3 separate regions of the Homo sapiens genome follow, and regions 1 and 3 are each linked to region 2. The links are contacts of gene promoters, found by promoter capture Hi-C in blood cells and fetal thymus (Javierre and others, 2016). All regions are on one chromosome and are shown on one strand. The core of a region is centred on a gene start or on the middle of the fragment in contact, and the rest is flanking DNA. Distances in the headings are between cores, read along the strand shown. Region 1 has its middle 12 kb from the start of ODF4. Region 2 holds the start of VAMP2 (vesicle associated membrane protein 2). Region 3 holds the start of LOC124903915 (a long non-coding RNA gene).

Region 1 (2,700 bases), core at 60-2,559, 160 kb after region 2:
TCAAGCGATCCTCCTGCCTCAGCTTCCTGAGTAGCTGGGACCACAGGCAGGAGCCAACACACCCGACTAATTTCTGTATTTTTTGTAGAGACGGCGTTTTGCCATGTTGCCCAGGCTGGTCTGGAACTCCTGGGCTCAAGCGATCCTCTCTATGGGCCTGATAATTTTAAAAGCCTTGCCCCCCTCAGATAAAAAGTTTTTCTTTTCCTACAAGATAAGGCAGATAGTAAAGGGCACGGGCCTCTCTTTGAGCTGGCCTTCTGTGGGCTCCGGGTCAAGATCTTAGTGGCCAACATCGCAGATAAACGGGGGTGGGGGTTGCAATCATGCCCACAAGCAACAGAGGAAAGAGAGGAGCCTCGCCCTCTTCCCCCCACGCCCCGGCCCCCAAGCCTGCTCACTAGCTCTCTCCTCCTCCTTCCACCCGCAAGGAACCCTCCAGCCCACTTCCTGTGATCCTTTCCGGAGCCCTTCAGCCTGGCTGGCTCTCCAGCCATCTCGGAAAGCTTCTCTTTCCTAAACCCTCCATACTCGCAGGTTCAGCTACAGAGGTAACTGCAGGCTCAGGTTCTCCAGGGTGGCCAGCCCACCAGCCCACCGTCCCGGTGCAGCAGTGCCTCTCCAGCGACAGCTCCACCGCGAGCCTGGCGGGCTCCCGACCTTGCTCCCCAGCACGTCGTCTCCAAGCCACGGTCTCACCACCCTCCATCAGCCTCGGGCGACACCAAGGGGAACAGAGCGCTGGAGCTCCTCGAAGTCCTCCCGACCTTAGCGGGGCTCCGTTCATCCTCCCGGACGTGGCCAGGCCCCGCTCTGGCCCCGCGCCCGCCCCTCCCGCGGGGCTGCCCCTGTCTCTCTGCCGGAGACCCGGACTCAGTGAGTGAGCGCAGCGCGGCCATAGGGCTTCCTGCAGCGGGGTCTCAGCACGTCTTCTGGCTGGACTCTGGGGTCTCCTGGCCTGGCTGTGTCTCCTGGTTCTCAGCGCTCGCCTCCCACGCGGGGCGGAGTATGGGAGTGGGCTGCTCCCGCGGAAGAATCCTGGGGAAGTTGAGGCACTGGCTCCCGCTGTTCAGAACACTGCCCGACGTCCCCAGAGCTAGCCACTCCTCCTTCCCACCCACCCGCAGCACTCTCGAGGTCGCAACGGCAGTCACCAGGTCCCGGGGCCTGCGTTCAGCTGCTTGATCCGACTAGGTTTGGCTTCGGACCCGAATGGGTCAGCTCCACGCCCGATGGAGTTTTTCAAGCTGGTGCCTGCACGTGCCCCCGCCGCGGGGCATGAAGCCGTGGGCTGCGCCCAAACTGCCTCACAACCACCGCTGACCCGAAGCCTCTCTCACTCCGTCCACTGTTAGAAACCTGAAGCTGCCCTCTGTGAGAAAGCGTTGGGATTGAATCCAGACTTTTGGGGAACCTTAACAATAAAGAATACAAAATATTGACTAAAAATTGGATTTGAAAGTGACCCTGAGTTGTTGTTGTTGTTTTTGTTTTAGACGGAGTCTCACACTGTCACCCAGTCTAGAGTGCAGTGGCGTGACCTCGGCTCACCGCAACCTTCGCCTCCTGGGTTCAAGCGATTCTCCTGCCTCAGCCTCCCGAGTAGCTGGGACTACAGGCGTGCGCCACCACACTCGGCTAATTTTTTATATTTTTAGTAGAGACGGGGCTTCACCATATGGCCAGGCTGGTTTTGAACCCTTGACCTCATGATCTACCCCCATCGACCTCCCAAAGTGCTGGGATTACAGGGGAGGCACTGCGCCCAGCTACTCTTCCTTGATTTACGACAACCCTTGGTTATTGTGATTGGGTCGAGATGGGTATGTGTCCCAATTTGGATCAATGAGTTCAGAGACAGTTAATTCGAGACCCACCCAAGAGCCACTTGAATGAGCCATTCTCTCTTCCCCTGGACATTGCAGTGTGAGGATATAAGGTTTGGATCAGTGGCTGCCATTTTAGTGCAGTGAGAGGCAGCTTGGAGTTGCTGGGGAGGCCACTGGATACAGCCTGATGAAGGAGCCAACACCACAAAACTGGAAATGGAGAGACAAGGGGAAAGCCAGGTCCTTGTTATCATCACTTGAGTTCCAGGATCAAGTCTCATCTGAAGCTTTTATCTTGATTTTTCAGTTATTTTTGTTTGTTTGTTTGTTTGAGGCAGGATCTCGCACTGTTGCCCAGGCTGGAAGGAAGTGGCACGATCTCGGCCCACTGCAACCCTCTGCCTCCTAGGTTCAAGCTATTCTCATACTTCAGCCTCTCTAGTAGCTGGGACTACAGGCATGCGCCACCATGCCCAGCTAATTTTTTTTTTTTTTTTTTTTTTTTAGATGGAGTCACACTCTGTCACCCAGGCTGGAGTGCAATGGCATGATCTTGGCTCACTGCAACCTCTGCCTCCTGGGTTCAAGTGATTCTGTTGTCTCAGCCTCCTGAGTAGCTGGGATTGCAGGCGCCTGCGATCATGCCCCACTAATTTTTGTATTTTTAGTAGAAATGAAGTTTCACCATGTTGGCCAGGCTGGTCTCAAACTCCTGACCTCAGGCGATCTGCCCGCCTGGGCCTTACAAAGTGCTGGGATTACAGGCACGAGCCACTGAGACCAGCCTGGATTTTTCAGTTCTATAGGTCATTAAATTCCCTTTATCCCTTAAACCAGTTTGAATCTCCTTTCTTTTATTAGCTACAGAGTC
Region 2 (2,908 bases), core at 9-2,508:
GCACGGTCGTCCAGCTCCGACAGCTTCTGGTCTCGCTCCAGGACCTTGTCCACGTTCACCCTCATGATGTCCACCACCTGGGAGAAGGGCCCACGAGGCAGGGGGGTGTGCCAAGGCCCACCTCAGTGAGGGCAATCCTCAAACATGTGCCCACCGTGCCACACATGGAACATGCACCCTGATACTGCCAGGTTAACATGCCAAGGACACACAGAACATGCCTAGCACACCTGGGGACATGCAAGGAGCACACATCAGGGGCATGCTGGTGACATCTCAGATGTCATAGCAACACCCTCCCTCTATGGAACCTCAGGCGCTCTGTCCATCACCAGAGCACACCTGCCCAGGCTGGCACACCCCAGGCTAGCAAAGCTGATTAACACCCCCAGCGCCCTTCCAAGTGCGTGCTGACAGGGAGACAGGGATGGGGCATGGTATCTTTGTCCGCAAACCCACAGGCGTGAACTGTCATCACTCCCAAACCAACATGGGCCCCTACACCTATACGCCAACCCCCAGGGTCCCTCCTACTGCTTTTGACTCCCCCCACACTCACCTCATCCACCTGGGCCTGGGTCTGCTGCAGTCTCCTGTTACTGGTGAGGTTTGGAGGGGGTGCAGGGGGACCACCCTCCCCAGCCGGGGCAGCAGGGGGGGCCGTGGCAGCGGTAGCAGACCTGAGGAGCAGGGACGGATTAAGACCCAGGGCCTGCAGCCTCCCGGCCCCGCAGCCAGGGCTCCGCCCATCCACCTGTCCATCCTCGTCCCTCCAGTCCTCCTTTTCGGGAGGAAGGCCACCCGATGTAAGCCCTGGTCTCGGTCCAGCCCTGCCGCCGATGAGCTGCGTGACCTTGAGCGAGGCCCCCCCGGCCTCAGTTTCCCCGCCTGTCAACTGAGGGCGACCTCACAGATGCGATCCGGGTCGACCCGAAAAGACAGGCGGCCGCGGTGACAGGGGCGGGGAGGGGCAGGAGGACACTGGGTCCGCTCCTTCCCGCGGCCATCGCCCGAGCCGGCCAGCCCGGGACGCGGGGCTCCTCGGCCGCCCGCGCGCAGTCACCGGCTTGGGCCTGGCCCCGGGGCGCGGGGAACGCAGGAGAGACCCCGGGCACTCCCGACGGCCGGTTGCCAAGGGCGGCGGCCGGCGCAGGGAAGCGCGGTGAGGGTGGCGGGCGGCCGACTCACATGGCGGGGGCAGCGGGTGGAGGACTTGGCAGCGGCAGTGATGGCGGCGGCGGCTCGCGCTGGCTCCGACTGGCGCTGGCTGCCCGGGACGGAAAGATGGCGGCCGCGCGTCACCCGCATCCGGGCACTGCGGGCGGGGGCGGGGCGCCGCGGGAGACGCGTCGCGAGCGGGGCCGCGGGGGCGGGGCGCTGCGGGGCGCTGCGGGGCGGGGGTCGTGCCGGGCAGGACCACGGGCCCCGCGCCACCATGCCCCGGCAGCTCCCTCGGCACTCGCGGGACCCCAAGGCGGGCTGCTGCGGCTTCCCCAAACCCACCGCCACCCCACCCTGTCTGACCACAGCCCCCCCAAACCGCCTGCCGCCTGCCCCTTAGAGCACAACGCAGCCTGGCCCTACACCTAACCCCCAGACCACTCCCTCAATCGTGAACCCAGTAAACCAGCCTGCACCCCACACAGCCCAAGGTCTTGCCCCGCGCCCAGGTCCCAGCACCTAGCGACCCGCCTTCAGCACTTGGAATGGGCTGGAGTTGGGAAATCAGAGAGGGCCAGTGCAGGTGCTGGGGCAGTATCGAGAGCGGGGACCTTACTGCTAGGGTGGAGAGGAGTGGGGGAGATTGGTCCCAACCCATCACCGCTGGTGGATGTCTCAGAGGAAGCCTGGGGTCCCTGGCCACTGGGTAGGAGGGTAGGAAGAAAAGATGAGGCAGGCTCTTCCCGCCCAAACAAGTCCAGGGGGCGGAGGACGGGGGAGTGTCTACAGGGTGTGGGGAGGGGGCTGCCCCGCCTCACGATTAAGGTTCAGACTAGGGGTACTTAACCGCTGGAGCAGGCCCGACTGAGGTGGGGTGAGCTGAGGACCCCGAGGAGGAGGGCACAAGGCTGCCGGGGGTGATGGGGGCAGGGGCTGCTTCACGTGGTGGCTGCTGACTGGCCAAGACCTAGCTTTGCCCCAGGCTTAGGTCAGCGACCCGACTGCAGGAAAGGGCTCAGGCTTTGGTCCCAGGCACAGGGCCTGGGCCAAAAAAAAAAAAAAAGCCTTTTTTCTTTTTCTCTCATTTTTTTTTCTTTAGTAGTAGGCACAGTGGGCACAGGTTACAAGGTGCTGCTTTACATGCGTATTCGCCTCGCAGGTGTGACCTTGGACCGTTGCCCTCCTCTCTCTGGACCCCAAATACATTGCATATGTAGGTACTAAATCCATATTTGTTAAATGGCTTGATGTGGATAACATAGGAGATTATCCCTGGCTGGTCTCCATTAGGCCCTCTAAGCACACCCAGCAGCTGTATACACTCCCACCCAGCTTGTCAGAGAAGATGGGACCAGGGGAGCTGTCGCTCTGGTGGAGTGCAGGGGGTCAAAGCAAGCCTCAAGGGTGCAGGAGGCATTTTAGGCGAGGCCCTTTGGCCCTGGGGTGGGGGTGCTTACTACATCCCTGGAAGGTGCAGGGAGGCTGATGGCCTTGATCTCTAAGACAAACAGGAACCAGCTTCCTCCCTCCCCCACCCTGGCTTCCCAGGGCCTCCGGGTGTGAGATCCTCCCCCACTGCAGTGCCCCACCCGCTCCCCACAGAAGCCCGGAGAGTGGCTCTGTCACCAGAGGTGTCATTTCCCAGCTGTCTGTGGGAGGTGAGTGAGCAGGGAATGTGTGTGCTGGGTGTGGGAACTCAGCCCAATCTAAGAGAAGATACTCTTGGCTTCCTCCCCCTCAGAGGAGC
Region 3 (2,727 bases), core at 224-2,723, 140 kb after region 2:
AAAGATTAGAAGCAACATGGAACTGGTGAGGTCTGATTTCTTTCACTGTCATAATTTCCTCAGTTATAACTTTACAAAGGCGATTTTAAGACCCTGTCTCAAAAACAAACAAACAAACAAACAAAAACTATCGTGATCCACTCCCCCTACTCTGCTCTGAAACCTTCAGGGCCTGTCTGCCCGGTGTGATTGCTCACGATATGGCCTCCATGTGTCCCTCTTTTCATTTCAGATCAGTTTGTTTCCCTTTCACGGTTCTCCAGACGTGCCTACTTTCCTCTTCGCTGTGCCTGCGCTTCCCTGGATTCCCACAATGCTCCTTCATGCCCTGCCTCTTGGCTTGGCTAAACCCCTCTGCCTGATTTTAAATGAACAGTCAAAGTGCCTCTTCTCCCTGACACCCACTTTTTCCAACCAACAGGTCAATGACATGAGGAAGACCGAAGGAGGCTGCTGGGTGTGGACACAAAGAGATGGAGCAGACGCTTATGGGCTCCTTCATCCTTCCAGAACAGACTCTCCAAGCAAAGTCTAAACCAGTCACATTGAAGCTCCTAGGGTTACTTCATTAATAATATTTCAGGCCGGGCGTGGTGGCTCACGCCTGTAATCCCAGCACTTTGGGAGCCTGAGGCGGGAGGATCACAAGATTAGGAGTTCAAGACCAGCCTGGCCAATATGGTGAAATCCCGTCTCTACAAAAAGTTAGCCAGGCGTGGTGGCGGGCGCCTGTAGTCCCAGCTACTCGGGAGGCTGAGGCAGGAGAATGGCTTGAGCCCAGGAGGCGGAGGTTGCAGTGAGCCGAGATTGCACCACTACACTCCAGCCTGGGCAACAGAGCAAGACTCTGTCTCAAATAATAATAATAATAATAATACTTCAAAAAGACTTCAAATTGAAGTCTTTTTTTTTTTTTTTTTTTTGAGACGGATTCTCGCTCCGTCGCCCAGGCTGGAGTACAATCGTGTGATCTTGGCTCACTGCAACCTCCGCCTCCTGGGTTCAAGCCATTCTCTGGCCTCAGCCTCCTGAGTAGCTGGTATTACAGGCTTGTGCCAACATGCCTGGCTAATTTTTGTATTTTTAGTAGAGACGGGGTTTCATCTTGTTGTCCAGGCTGGTCATGAACTCCTGACCTTAAGTGATCTGCCTGCCTCAGCCTCCCAAAGTGCTGGGATTACAGGTGTGAGCCACCACGCCCGGCTGCACTAATTATTTGTAATGGTAAAGAGTGTAAGCTTCCCTAGGAGGACTGTCTCCCAGTTCTGCACTAGGGGATAAATTGTAATGGTCAAGGTTCTTTCAGCAGTAAGTGACAGAAAACCAGCTAAAACCAGCTCAAGCGCAAAAGGGAATGTCATGCCTCTGGAAGCTGGGAGGTCCAAGGGACTCAAATATCATTGTAATCCCCAGCTTTTTTTTTTGCTCTGTCACCCAGGCTGGAGTGCAGGGGCGTGGTCTTGGTTCACTGCAGCCTCGAACTCCTGGGCTCAAGTGATCCTCCTGCCTCAGCCTCTGGAGTAGTTGAGACTACAGGCATGCGCCACCGCCAGGCTTCCTCCCTCTCTTGGCTCTGCTTCCCTCAGGTATGGGGCTCATTTTCTCCCACTGTTGACTGGCTTCCTCCTTTTCCAGGGGAAGGAAGTAGGCCAAGGTATAGACAGCTCCTGACTTAGATTGTTCCTGCCTTGTGAGCTTGGAGGAAAGAGAAAGCTTCTCTTTCTCAGAGGCCCAGAAGCTTCTCTTTCTCCTGGAGTCTGTCCTGACCTGCTCATTCCTGGACCAGTCTCTGTGGCCAGAGGAATACGGCACTGTGATTGAACAAACCTGAGTCACGTGGCCAGAGGGAGGCTGTTGTGATTGGCTGTCCCACTGGAACCACATGGAGTCGGGTGGGTGATGGAGAGTTTCGTAGGAGATGGACACTGCTGTTACCAGGAAGATGAAATCTATTTGATGCAACATTATATTCCAGGAAACGTTATAGCTGCAAAGACCACGTAGCGACATGAAAATTGGTTATAAAGCAATGCTAAGAGAACAAGGCAGAAGACAGACTTGAAACTATGATGGCACATTTGGAATATGAAAAAATAGAAAACTTTTGCTCTGTAAGGGTGGTAGAAGAATGAATTATTACGTCAAAAACCTTCAGTGTCTTTGCAAAAGTATTTTATAATAAATAACGTGTGCATGCACAAATAGTCTCATGTTTACTGCATAATATGATTTTCGGAGCTCAGTTTCTTTTTGTAATGAGATAAGACACAAATAAAATAGATGGTGATATTGACAAAAAGAGTCAAACTCTGTAAAATATTTGAAGAGATTTATTCTGAGCCAAATATGAGTGACCATGGCCTGTGACTCAGCCCTCAGGAGATCCTGAGAACATGTGCCCAATGTAGTTGGGGTGCAGCTTGCTTTTATACATTTTAGGGAGACATGAGACTTCTATCAAATACTTTTTTTTTTTTGAGACCAAGTCTCACTCTGTCACCCAGGCTGGAGTGCAGTGGCACAATCTCGGCTCACTGCAACGTCTGCCTCCCAGGTTCAAACGATTCTCCTGCCTCAGCCTCCCAAGTACAATAGCTGGGATTACAGGCGCTCGCCACCACGCCTGGCTTATTTTTGTATTTTTAGTAGAGATGGGGTTTCACCATGTTGGCCAGGCTGGTCTCGAACTCCTGGCCTCAGCTGATCGGCCCGCCTCGGCCTCCCAAA

The links. Contacts are between HindIII fragments. The CHiCAGO score rates a contact against its expected background, and 5 or more counts as called.
Region 1: a contact is called between a fragment that was not itself captured here and the fragment with the promoter of VAMP2 in region 2, in 1 of 17 cell types (megakaryocytes). The highest score is 5.1, in megakaryocytes.
Region 3: a contact is called between a fragment that was not itself captured here and the fragment with the promoter of VAMP2 in region 2, in 4 of 17 cell types (non-activated CD4 T cells, total CD8 T cells, total CD4 T cells and 1 more). The highest score is 7.3, in non-activated CD4 T cells.

The regions. Positions count from the first base shown.
Region 1 is chr17:8,326,280-8,328,979 of GRCh38, forward strand. No RefSeq gene overlaps it. Among named protein-coding and RNA genes, the nearest start is that of ODF4, 12 kb to the right of the region's middle. The HindIII fragment of the contact is 1,610 bases long and covers 505-2,114 here.
Region 2 is chr17:8,161,690-8,164,597 of GRCh38, forward strand. VAMP2 (vesicle associated membrane protein 2) reads right to left here and starts at 1,259. Exons shown (of 5, transcript NM_014232.3): 1 at 1,189-1,259; 2 at 560-680; 3 at 1-77. The coding sequence starts at 1,190. RefSeq lists an enhancer at 427-476 and silencers at 587-696, 987-1,176, 1,337-1,436, 1,567-1,626. The HindIII fragment of the contact is 9,788 bases long and covers 1-2,908 here.
Region 3 is chr17:8,302,864-8,305,590 of GRCh38, forward strand. It overlaps LOC124903915 (a long non-coding RNA gene), which reads right to left and starts at 1,987. Exons shown (of 2, transcript XR_007065606.1): 1 at 1,828-1,987. It overlaps LOC124903914 (a long non-coding RNA gene), which reads left to right and starts at 1,138. Exons shown (of 2, transcript XR_007065605.1): 1 at 1,138-1,586; 2 at 1,976-2,202. RefSeq lists a cis regulatory region at 1,652-2,040. The HindIII fragment of the contact is 475 bases long and covers 1,237-1,711 here.